Linked DNA regions of Homo sapiens: region 1 is linked to region 2. The links are contacts of gene promoters, found by promoter capture Hi-C in blood cells and fetal thymus (Javierre and others, 2016). All regions are on one chromosome and are shown on one strand. Each heading gives the region's core, a stretch centred on a gene start or on the middle of the fragment in contact. The rest is flanking DNA. Distances are from core to core; before and after follow the strand shown. Region 1 has its middle 8.6 kb from the start of OR8H1. Region 2 holds the start of OR8K3 (olfactory receptor family 8 subfamily K member 3 (gene/pseudogene)).

What was found. The method cuts DNA at HindIII sites, captures the fragments that hold promoters and counts their contacts. A CHiCAGO score of 5 or more calls a contact.
Region 1: a contact is called between a fragment that was not itself captured here and the fragment with the promoter of OR8K3 in region 2, in 1 of 17 cell types (neutrophils). The highest score is 5.2, in neutrophils.

What each region holds. Positions count from the first base shown.
Region 1 is chr11:56,280,200-56,287,109 of GRCh38, reverse strand. No RefSeq gene overlaps it. Among named protein-coding and RNA genes, the nearest start is that of OR8H1, 8.6 kb to the left of the region's middle. RefSeq lists an enhancer at 3,811-4,312. The HindIII fragment of the contact is 4,653 bases long and covers 2,570-6,910 here.
Region 2 is chr11:56,310,504-56,317,225 of GRCh38, reverse strand. It overlaps OR8K3 (olfactory receptor family 8 subfamily K member 3 (gene/pseudogene)), which reads right to left and starts at 2,082. Exons shown (of 3, transcript NM_001005202.2): 1 at 2,059-2,082; 2 at 1,169-1,226. The HindIII fragment of the contact is 10,208 bases long and covers 1-3,654 here.

The DNA.
Region 1 (6,910 bases), core at 3,647-6,146, 33 kb after region 2:
TAATGGAAAACCACCCTTTACTTGGTCAAGCAAAGATTTAAGAATTATGTTGAAGTAATGTGATTATTATGCATTGTCTTCCTGCATCAAATTATCTCATATACTCTAAATATGTATCTATTATGTACCCACAAAAAAAGTCAAATTAAGAATTTTTAAAAAGTAAATAAAACACAGAGGAGCTCCAGAACTGGGTAAATATAGGCTTTAGCTTAAGCTGAAACAGAGCATTCAAGCCAGCAATGGGTGGGCCTGGGGCCTTTACTTGGCTTGAAGTGAGGACACTGCCCTCCTCTCCTGAGGACTCATTTGTACACTCAGCTCATATTATTATGTAATTCTTGTCACCTTTCAATAACTTTTCTTACAAGCCTAACTATTTCTTTCAACTCTATGTGGCCAGGAGAGGCTTTCTGTAACTGTTTCAGATATAGACACACATCTTAGGGAGAACTGTCTGCGAGTGACAGCTTTCTCAGCCACAAGTCAGAGAGGTGGAGAAATCATTTTAAATTCTGGGCATTCGATCAAATATTCAGAAAAGGACACTTTGCCCTTTGAAAGTTGAACAATAAGCAGAAGTGCAGCCTGGGAAGCAAATGTACTTCTGATTATTTAAACTGAAGTTCTAGAGAGGACGGGATAGTCAGTGGTTCCAGCAACTTCAATGGGGGAATTTCAGGCTAATGCAGAAAACAAATGCAAAGGAATATCAAAGTAGTCCTGGTAACATCAGAATCCTATTGATACACTCACATCTCGGAAAGTGTTTGTCTCAGACTTTTGCAATTAATATCTGCAAACTGTGTTTGCAGTTTGAATGGTTTTCATCAATTAGTAAGAATCTATACCCATGTCCTTGTGTTTGCTTTTCTTTTGTATCATCAGCTCATAGACATTTAATGCAATACTAAGAAAACATGCTCTCTCCCCACCGAAAAAAAAAGAATTATCTTGGAATTTTATTTTTATTAAACACACTTTACTTCCATTCAATTAATATATTAAAGTTCTTCTAAATATGGAATACATTTGGTGTCTGAACACATTTTTTGCTACCATCCTGGCCCAGATAACTGTCTTTTTAGTGTCAGAATTATTGCTGTAGTGTGGTAGCATGCATGTAATTTTATTCTTATTCCTCTTGAGTTGAATCTCTATATAGGAGCCAGAGTTATACTGTTAAATAGTAGGTTGGATTATATCATTTCTCTTCACAAACCCTATACAGTATTTCCTCACACTAAAAATAAAAACCAAGAACTTTATAAGTGTTCATTGGTTGAAAATGATGTCCTCAATTCTTAAGTCTATGAACTTATTTCTTATTATTCCACCTGTCACACTTACTTTGTCTCTATTCCATTATCTCCCAGCTCTTCGCTGTAAATAGTATTACTAACACTGCCTGAAGTTTTCCATTTTCTCTTCTTCCTGAAGCTTCCTTCCCACAGATAACTGCATGATTTTTTAAAAAATTTTTATTTCCATACATTTTTTGGGGAACAGGTGGTATTTGGTTACATGAGCAAGCTTTTTAGTGGTGATTTGTGAGATTTTGGTGCACCCATCTCCAGAACAGTATACACTGAACCCAGTTGTAGTCTTTTATCCCTTACCCCCCTCTTACCCTCTCCCTCAAGTCCCCAAAGTCCATTGTGTAATTCTTATGCCTTTGCATCTGCATAGCTTAGCTCCCACTTATAAGTGAGAACATACAATGTTTGGTTTTCCATTCCTGAGTTACTTCACTTAGAATAATAGTCTCCAGTTCCATCCAGATTGCTGTTAAAGCCATTAATTCATTCCTTTTTATGGCTGAGTAGTATTCCATCATATATCCATATATATGGAATATATACACATAGAGCAATATTTTCTCCACTCATTGATTGATGGGCATTTAGGATTCTTTTCTTAACAAAAAAAAATCCCTTACACCCTATTAAAGGCATTAACAAAATAATAGAGGTTATTAAAGGGGATATGCTGCTGATAAACATTCTCTAGGGCTGTTGATAGAGGAGAGTATGATTTTGGCAGTACTAGCTAAATCTCAGATGTATAGGTACAGTCCTATTTACAGAAAAAGCACTCAATAAAGGAAAGAACAGTTTATCAGATGATGGGATGGTGCTGGGGAGAGAATTTGTATTTAATCAGGATACAGGCTTTTCTGATGTTAAAGAAAAAAAAAAGGATTCAGAAACAGAGTGACCCAACAACAACAAAGTATCCTTAAATATAACCTGCAGAGTGTTCTTTGTTTTATTCTTATTACTCTTGACCTGACTAGACTTTGTGGGGAGCTGTTTTTCACAAGGCAATCTTAGGACACAGGTTCTTCTATGTTATTGCTCTATTATCTCCCTGATGTCTTCTTCTATGTTGTTGAAGAGAGTTAATCTAGTACTTTGCCCACATTCTAGTCTGAGAGAAAGGTGAGATTTTTTGACAGTAAGGAAGACAATTCCAAACGTTGTGTTCATATGGATGGTTTTTAGAACATATTCAATTTTTTAAGTAGACATAGGACTACCCTGGTTACCCCTTTCTTCTGATGTAAGCTTCTTTACATTTTTCATTTGTATTTTTCATTTAATTGTCAATTTTATTAGCAAAATGTTGTTTATAATGTTCTTATTTTCCTTGTCATATTTGTAGGGACCAGAGTAAAATACCTTATTTCATTCCTGATATTGGTTATATTTCTCTTCTGTCTTCTTAGTGTTGACCCTGGATTATAAAAACATGTTTTATGTATTATAGTTTACCTAAAATAATCTATATCTCAACTTTTCACATAAGACCTTTAGAGTAAAGTCAGATCTCTCCCATTCCTTTTGCTATATTTGTCATAAATTTTACATTTACCAAAATGTTTAAAGAAGAACTAATACCAATCCTACTTAACTATTCCAAAAACTAGAGGATGGGTACTTCCAAACTCATTCTACAAGTCCAGTATACCAAAACCAGACAGACCCATTGAAACAAACAAACAAACAAACAAAAAAGAAGCTATAGGTCAAATCCCTGATGAACATCAATACAAAAATTCTCAACAAACTACTAGCAGACCAATTTCAACAACGGTTTAAAAATATCATTGATTATGTTGAAGTGGGAATTATCCCAGGCATGCAAGTATTTTTTGATATACACAAATCAATCAAAGTGATACATGATATTGACAGAATGAAGGACCAAAAACATGAACATTTCAATTGATACTGAAAAAGGATTTGATAAAATTCAACATCCCTTCATGACAAAAACCCTCCAAAAACTGAGTATAAGAGGAACATAACTCTATATAATAAAAGCCATGTATGTCAGACCCACAACTAGTAACATACTGAATGGCAAAAAAAACTGAATGTTTTTCCTCTAAGATCTAGAACACGACAAGAATGCCCATGTTCAACATTATTATTTGAAATAGTACCGGAAGTCCTAACTGGAGAAATCAGACAATAGAAAGAAATAAAGAGGATTTAAATTGAAAAGAAAGGAGTCAAATTATTCTTATTTGCAGACGATATGACCTTATATTTGAAAAAACCTAGAGACTCCACCAGAAAACTAATTAAAAAGCTGATAACAAATTCAATAAAGTTGCAGGATAAAAAATCAACATAAAAAATTAGTAGCATTTTGAGGACTAAGCTCTAATTGTTTTATCTTGCCCACATTCTTATCTAAATGATCTGGGTAGTCATGTCCTAGAAACCATAGATTTTTCAGCAGATGGGTTTTATTTAACCCTATGTATCATAACTTACTTTCCAAACTGACTCTGGCATAACATTATGAAACAAGGAAGAAAATCAAAATATTTTACCCCAAAACATATGTCTTTGCCATATCTTGAAAGGCCCTGTAAAGCTGTCCTTAAAGGAATATTTCCATCTGTAAAGAATCTCTATTAACATAGATATATGTTTTTTCTTCCAGGCCCTCCCAATCCTAATGAGATAAATTAAAAGTCTAGCACCTTTTAAAGATCTAAATAGGAAACATTTGTCATCTATTGTCTCTAAGGGCAGACACTATAAGACTTCAAAAGAACCTTGGTCTCCACAATCTTTTATCTTAATCTGAACATTTCCTTTCTATGGATTCCAGATCTTTAGACAAACTCAACCAATTATCAACCAGAAAATGTTTAAATTTACCTATAGCCTGAAACCTGCTGCCTCCCACTGTTTGACTTGTCCCACCATTTTGGACCAAACCAATGTATTTCTTAAAAGTATTTGATTGATGTTTCATGCCTCCCTAAACTGTATAAAAACCAAACTCTGCCTTGACCACCTTGGGCACATGTTGTCAGGACCTCATGGGGGCTGTGTAATGGGCAATGGCCACCCATATTTGGCCCTGAATAAATCTCTTCAAATATTTTACAGAGTTTGACTCTTTCTTTTGACCATTTCTATACACTGCAAACTGAAAATATTGATGACAGGTCTCAGTCAATTTAGAAAGTTTATTTTGCCAAGGTTCAGGACACCCCTGTGACACAGACTCAGGAGGTACTGATGACATATGCCCAACGTGGTCAGGGTAAAACTTGGTTTTACACATTTTATGGATACAATGCATCAATCATATTTTTACATTGGTTCAATGTGGAAAAGTGGAACAACTTGAAGAAGGGGAAGGTCATAGATAGATTTAAAGATATTCTGATTGGTAATTGTCTAAAACAGTTATTATCAATAGAAAGGAATTTCTGGGTTAAGATAAGGAGTTGTGGAGACCAAGGTTTTATCATGCAGATGAAGCCTCCAGGTAGCAGGTTTAGAACAGATTGTAAATGTTACTTATCAGACCTACAGTCTGTGTTGATGTTAATACTGGAGGAGTATAGTGAGGCACATAGGACCCTCACTTACAGTCATGGCCTGATCCAGTCTTTGAGGTTAATTTTAGAGTGCCCTGGCCTAGGAGGGAGTCCATTCAGATGGTTGTGGGATGAGGAAGGGGATTTGAATTTTATTTTTGGATTACAATGTCAGTAGCAATCAATTCAAAAGTAAAAATAAAAAGTCTGCAATATTTACAAATAAAGTTAAATACTTAGGAATTAACTTAACCAAAGAAGTGAAAGAGCTGTACCATGCAAACTATAAAACATAAATGAAAGAAATTGAGGAGGACACATGATAAAAGAAAAACTTCAGCCAAATTAAATTTAAAGGAATTTTGTTAAGCAAAGAATGATTAGCAAATTGGGCAGTCACTGAAGCCAGAGTAGGCTCTGAGATTCCAGTGCAGCCACATGGTGGAAGATTTATGGATAGAAAAAGAAAATGACATACAGAAAACAAAAGTGAGGTATAGAAATAGCTGAATTGGTTATAGGTTGGTGTTTGCCATGTTTGAACATGGTTCAAACAGTTGGCTCCATTTGATTGGCCAAAACTTGGTGATTGGCACAGATGTAGGCTTCAGTCTGTTTACACCTCCACTTGTTCTAGTTTGTGATGTACAAAGAAACCTTTTGGCCAAAGTTAAAATACGTAATGAGGCAGCTTCAGGTTAAACTCGATTTAATAATTTCTCTCTTTGGTCATCTCAATTTTTAAAGGTGGACAAAAAGTTTAGTAATTGATGTCAGTTTCACCAGTATAAATGTACTTATTTGGGCTTGAAAGCCACTGGGAAATAGCAAAACAGTAGGTTTTGTAAGATGGGAACAGGGACTTCAGGTTATTTATTCATTTTTTTGAAAGGGTTAGAATAGAGGGTACCTCCTTATGCTGGAACATCCTTTTTACAGGAGAGAAAACAAAACCTGGTGTGTTCTAGGATCTAAGCGTATCCTTAAAGTCTTAGCTTAATTATGTCACATTTAGCATGAATGACTCCATTTTGGTTTAGTCTGGTCTGTTGGGGCCTAGTGCATAAGCTCAGTCCAAAACAATGACCGCTCATAATTTTGTTTAAAAATTTTCCACTTTTGTTCATGTTCTCAGGTGAGATTGCGACAAACACTTAGGGCCTAAGCACCACTCTCAGTTACCACCATTTTGGGTTTCCAGTCTCATCATGTCTCTCATAAGTTACGGTGCCCATATGGTCACACATTTCTTTCAGGTCTTGTCATTCCAGTTGAAGAGACACCATTTGACATTCTAAGGATGGCTCCATGCAAACATTTAAAATTTTTAAGATAATACAGTGCACCAGGGAAACTACTATTATCAGGAGGATAATACCAAGAGTTTGGAGTATGCTCCTTACCCAGGTTCCCCCTAAACCAAACCACCTAAAATCAAAAAGATAAAAGAATGAGCTAAAAAGTCTACTCACTTTACTAAGCAGTCTCTTTGTTAATCCCCTCTATAAGACCTGATGTGATATATTTCTCCATAGGCCACAAGTGCCAGCAGCTACACAGATACTTCTCTGTTTAGCCAGTAAGTAATGTAGAGCAATTCTATTATTTAGCATAACTTTTACAAGAGAATTTAAAGTCTGTTGTATAATCATCACCTATACAATAGAATCTGCTATAGAGCCTATCATGAGGGATACATTCCTAATCATTGCGTCTTTTACTTAAAACCATGGAAAAAGAGGACCTAACAAATGATGCCATTCTAGTAAAGGGCCTACTTTTAATGTTCTCTTTAACCTGTGAGGTAGGTTAAAAGGAGTGAACCAATGTTCTGTTTCTGACTGATTTTGAGGCAACATATGTACCATTAAAATTTCTCATCTACCTTGGGCCTTCGTTTTCCATCTATCAAGGTATTAGGTTATCCATGTATAAGGCTGGCTTCAAAATCCTTTACAAATAAAAGTATACCCCATGAGTGCACACAACATACTCCCATTTCACTTCTATTGTTCATAGAGACTTAAGCAAGGGAAAAAAAGATTCAAAGATAAGAGTCTC
Region 2 (6,722 bases), core at 833-3,332:
TTTTCTTCTTCTTGTTATTTGTTTTAATTGTGACAATGCCTTACTTGAAAGAGGTTTTTTTTACATGTGTACACATACATTATTCTGACTATGAATTAACTTCTTTGTTAGGACCATAATGATGCCTAGGGGAGTCACAGGTCAAGTAGGATGTAATACTTGCAACTTAGGGCAGTTCTTCTCCCCTCCCCCAATTCATGACTAAACTTGGGTAATTGGTATGCTATTGTTTTGGATTACTTATCTATTTTTCACAACGAATTTAATAACATTTTAAATAAATTATTTTTATATAAACTTTATTAAAACATTAATCTTCCCATAGTTTTATTCTCAATATAATTGAGAAATGCTAACTTGAATGTGAACGTTAAGTTTGTTTTATCATACAAAATCTTAGGGGAGTTTGAGGAAATCTGAACAAATTGGGAGAAAATGTGGTCCTTCATATTGGTTTTGTATAATGAAAATTAGTAAAAGCTACTTTTTGGGTAAAAGGATACTGTAGATTAAAGAAATGATTAAAAGTCACCTTGTTACACAATAACATAGAGACAAAATGAATACACTAAACATGAGATATACGTGGATTTCTGGCTGTGATTTAAAACTTTTCTGAACATGCAAGCCACAGAAACTAGGAAATATGGTATAGCACATAATACAAATTAACATATGTATAATCGAATAAATATATATCTAAATATCCCCCAATAACCCACAGATTTAAAATATAGTAGAGCAGGAGATGGAGGGCATGATAACCTAAGATAATCATTATTAGTTAAAAAAAATCGTAAGCCCCAATGTTTTTTGAAAAAAGAAAAGAAAGAAAATAGTTTTTACAATGAAAATTATAGTGACAGCAATCTCAGAGTGAGCTATGAAAAAATAAAGACAAGCAATTGTGTTACATTAAATATAAAGATGATTACATATTATTTGAACTTAATTTTTTAAATAAAATTATGACCTACTCCTATCCTACCCTGACTCAATGAACACACCTTTCTCATATTAGATATATGGTAATGTGTGGCAGTAGATGGAAAAGTTAGATAAATATCTTTAGTAAATAAGATGATGAGCAGCATAAATCCTGTATTTTGTTTGCTTGTTTTGTACAGTTTGGCAATTTAGAAAGGCAAATAATATCATGGATAAGTACCTGTTTTCTTGTTAGGTAAGGAAATATAAATGAGGTTCCTTTCACCATCTTTGGAGTTCTGTGGAAAGAACCAGATTGCTTTTTTTCATATTTTGCTGTCTTTGTTGAATATCAATTGCATTTTTTAAAGCTACAATCTTTGAGAAAATAATATCTGCTTTTGTCAACTCTTAGTGGAAATTGAAGTACTTTCTGAAAATTGTATTGTTCCCTAAAACTGGGTACTTAACAGTCTCCTAATTTTATTTTCTTCTATTTTAAAATGTTTTTTTTTTCTGTGCCTATGATTACCCAAAAAGCCTCATAATTTTTAATAATGCTTTTCACATTCGAATGTAAGGTAGCAACCCCCTTTTTGACTCACCAAGCAGTGAGAAAACAATCATATCTACACATTTATTTGAATAATCATTCAGTGTTAAATTATTGTTAAGGGGTCTGAGAGCCTAGAGCATCTAAATAACAAGTATTTGGAAGGACATGAACATGACTGACCAAATAGTTGCAGTTTCTCCATTCTTTCATTAAAAATATATTTATCTCCTTGTCATTGTGCTTTATTTTCTCCAAGTTTTGGCCTCAATTAGAGAAAAATATGTAAAATGAATACTTTAGAAACAATATCATGATAATGTTTCAAAGATGCTTATAGCATTCAGCCTGTGAAACCATGTAAAATACTTAAAAAGCATATGAAAAATGGAGCACCGTTATTTCTGCTTAGGCATTATTGAGTAACAGAAATCCCGGAGAAATGAATCAGAAATTGTCACACTTTACTATGGTTATGTCATCAAATTAAAGTGGCAGTTTTCCAATGTCACTGAAGCATTATAGATATCTGTAACATATGACACCACAAGAAACATTCTTACTTTTTTTTTTTTTACCTGTAAGGAAGCCTCTGTCTTGACTCCTCCATGTGTCTCTCACATGGCACAGTGAGAACAATTTATGCATTTTTTAATCTTTTGAGACTCTCCCTGAGGAGATGGCAGGCAATTTATTGATAATTCCTAAAGCATTTGAGAGCATAACAAAATGTTTGAGGCTGTCCATTAGTTGTAGAAGACAGTTTGTATTCACTAGTGTATCAGAGTTCTCCAGAAAAACAGTACTAAGAAGAGATAGTTAGATGAGAGATGATAGATAGATAGATAGATGATAGATAGATAGATAGATAGATAGATAGATAGATAGATAATAGAGATTTATTATGAATTGTTTTATGCAATTATGTAGGCTGAGGATTCCTGTGATTTGCTGTCTGCAAACTTCAAGAAAGCTGGTGGTATAGATTCAGTTCAAACTTGAAATATTGGGAGCCAGGGGAGCCAAGGGTGTACATCATAGTCTGAATTCGAAGGCTCTGGAATCTGGGATGTCAATGTCTGATGGCAGGAAGCGAAGGATGTCCTAGCTTAAGCAGGGAGTGAACTCACCCTTCCTCTGTCTTTTTGTTTTATTCAAGGCCTCAATTGATTGCACTGATACCCACCTATATTGGTGAGGATGATAGTTACTCTGTCTAACAATCGTAGTCTCTTCCAGGAGTATCCTCACAGGCACACCCAGAAATAATGTTTGCCAGCTATCTGGGCATCATATAGCCTAGTTAAGTCAACACTTTAATCGTCATTACTCCACCCCTTGTCAGCTTGGCAAACATAAGCATGTACTTAAACCATACTTAGTCTCTCTAAACATAGACAATAACAAGGTCATAGTTTTGCTTTACATGACACAACTATCCGGCATATAAATAAAAACTCACTAATCCTTTATTCCAATCAGGACATATATTCTTTGAGTGATACTGACTCTTCTCCTGATTTTCTCAGAGTAAAATTCTACAGTGTAAAAGTAACAATATTTAAATATTGATGTAAAGTCCATATATCATATTTATATAATAAGGTAATAAAAAATGGAATAAAGCATCTTAATAAATACACAGACATATTTATAATAAAATTAGGATGGAATTCTCATTACAATTACAGTCCTCATTTCTGAACTGGCCACATGATTATAGCTGGTATTTATAACCGTCTTCTTCTTCTTTCCATACTCTATTCCTTTTGTCTTTAGCAAGCACCTTAGTTGGCCATGGTTCTTTTTTCCTTGTGAAGTGGCCCAAACCTTTATTCCTGAAGAATGTGGGCCATTAGTAGTTCTGGCTAGTTTGGGCTATTACAGTTTTCCGTATATTATTATTACAGTTTTTCTTATTAATAAAAGATGTCCTAAGGAATGTCCCATATTCCAGGCTTATTCTTCCTTGTATTGTGAAGTAATAGCCCAATTTCCCCTGGAAAGTCAGGATCAAGTGTGATAACTTCCTGTTTTGTCTATTGATTCAGTTGCATGAGGAGCTCAAAATGGCTGGGTAAGAGTCTTAACTTCCAATTCAATAGAATTATTGCTATTTCTCTAGGTGGAAGCATTCATTCCTCTGTGACTAAGACCTGTAGGTCAGTAAAGCTTAAAGTCAATGGAGCAGGAAGCAGAAATTTTGACAGTGGGTCACTAGGGTTAATAGTGAGTGGTGTCTTGAATGTTAAATGACGAGTTAATGGGTGCAACACACCAACATGGCACATGTATACATATGTAACTAACCTGCACATTGCGCACATGTACCCTAAAACTTAAAGGATAATAAAAAAATTAAAAAATTAAAAAAAATAGTGAGTGGTGTCACTCATACTTCCATCTCTTCATTCCTAGGCTACTAGATCCAGTCTATGGCAAAAAAACAGCACAATATACTGGAGACTAATTCAAAGCATATATAGCTTTCTTGCAAACTTTTCCCCAGCTATTCAAATTATTGCCATCTAGCTGAATTGTAATTAAAATTTCAAAGCCAGTTTCTTTGGGATGTTGGGCAGCATGGTGAGTATGACTAGTGAATTCCATGATCATGGACACATTGCTGCACTTCTTTATCTGTGAAGTGAGTTTCTTGATATATGTAATGCCATGTGGAATATCATGATGGTACATAAGGCATTCTATAACTTGGAAGGTAGTTTTGGCAGAATTGCTTGCAGAGAAGGAAAATCTGTATCCAGAGTAAGTATATATTGCACTAAGAACAAAATGCTGCTCTTAAATGTTGGAAACAGTGCAATGTAACCAAACTCCTGCCAGGCAGCTGGCTACTCCCATTGGGTAATGGTGCCATATTAGTGGCTCTGTGTTGTTCACTGCTGCTGGAAGATTGGACACTCAGCAGTGACTATGGCCAGGTTGGCCCTCATGAGTGGAAGTCCATGTTGCTGTGAGACCACACATAACCTATGTCCCTGCCACCATGTCCACTTTCTTTGTGAGCCCATTGGGTGATGACAGGGTGCCTGAAGAAAGAGGCTGGCTAGTATCCACAGAATGTGTCATACTATTAACTTGAATATTACAATCCTCCTCTGCTGAGGTCACCATTTGGTGAGCATTCACATGGGACACAAATATCTTCACGTTTTTTGCTCATTCAGAGAGTTATGGTCATACTTCTTCCCTAAATTTCTTTGTCATTAATTTTTCAATCATGTCCTCTCCACGTTTTTTACTATCTAGCCACACCACTTGCCACAGCCCCTGAATCCATATGTAATCATAATTATCGCATGTCTGTTCTCTCATGATCACTTTCTAAGCAAAGTGCATCACCAGGTGCACCACTCAAAGTTGTGCACAGTGAGAGTATTTCCCTTTACTTCTGTCCATCAGGAATGTCCCAGAAAAGGCTTGTAGTGCTACAGTTGCCCACTTTTAGGGTGGTGTCTGCATATGATGCAGAACTATCTTTAAATGGGACTGGAGTCTTTTCTTCCTCTGTCATCTGACCATAAGGCACTCTCTATGAGGCCATGGGTGGAGACTGCGAGACAGAAGATAGTGTAGGAGGAGCGGGGACCATGTGCATCAGGCTATTTCTTCATGTAACTTACTTGTGCCTCAGGGCCTGTTCAGTCTTGAACACCATATACAGCAGTCACTTGGATACCTATTTTTTGCTTTTTGTGGTTTCAGTTACCTGCATTCAACTGTGTTCCAAAAATGTTAAAGAGAATTTCCAGAAAACAACTCATAAGTTGTAAATTACATATCATTCAAAATAGCACAATAAATTCTCACACTTTTTCACTCTATCTTACCTAGGGCGTGAATCATTTTTTGTCCAGTTATCCACAGTGTATATTTTCCTTGTCTGTTCCACTTAGTAGCCATCTTGGTTATCAGATGACTGTCACAGTATTGCAGTAACTGTGTTACATAACCGTTATTTTACTTAATGATGTCCCATACTGCAAGAGTTATGATGCTGGCAATTCAGATATGTCAAAGAGAAGGCATAAAGTGCTTCCTTTCTTTCAGTGTAAAGATGAAAGAAAAAAAAAATCCTATGCTAAGGTTGCTAAGAGCTGCAGTGAGAACAAATCTATTTGTAAAATTATGAAGAAGGGAAAATGGACTGTGTATGTCCAACTTTATGGCTGAGTGAGTCAGAAATCGTGCAGTTTATGATGTGTCAAGATAGTCAAGACTTCAGTTTCTAAGGCCTAATAGCAGGCCAAGAAGTGTTTTTTTAAATTTACTTGTTTGTTACCTATTTTTTACACTTGCTTAAATTTGCATTTGTACCACAGAGGACTCTTGATTAAAATATTGTATCTATAGTGCAGGCTCACAGAAAAAATATTGTATATACACGGCAGGTGGTATATACACAGTGGTTTCCTCAAAAAGGTGACAGAGTGGAGATGGTTTTCAACGTTGTCCTATTACTTTACTTAAGAATTTTACATGGAATAAAATAATGCACAAAGGAGAGGTGTTGCTTTTTTACTCATTTATGTTGTTCCTTTTTATTTCATCAGGGATAAAATTATTTAATTTTAATTTTGTTTATTCTTCAAATAAAAAATGGATATAATTACCCCTACTATGTACCTATAAAAATAAAAAATAAAAATAGTACTTAGAACACAGTAAATTTATTAGTATTAATAAATTATCTTAATATTTATTTTATTGTGACTTACCATCAGGTCTCTGTTTACAAATTATTTAGATTTTGGTTTTTTTCTTTATTACATATTGCAGCATTTCATTTTTTTATTCTGTTTAACCCTCAACTAAATTTTTCTTTTCTGTCTTGACAAAAACTTGATGTTTTATTAATATGTGTGTCCTATATTACTAATGTCATCCTGTGAACACATACAATTTGTGTATGTGTGTGTATTTACCATGCATATATGTTATTGTTATAATTTCATTGCTGTATTTAAGTCACTTTTTATTTGTGATATATCAATATTGTAACATTTGTGTTTCTTTCTGCATTATATACCTGCATTATATCATATATAATTATATAACTATGATACATGTCTGATAATTTTACCTTGTTTATTTTTTGTCCAGAGCAAGCCTATCCACAAAAACCAGCAACTTCCACGTTAAAGGCAGGGGTAGGGGGTAATTAGATTTGGAGTAAATGGTAGAAAATCCATGCACAGTAGTGAACGCAACTCTTTTAACC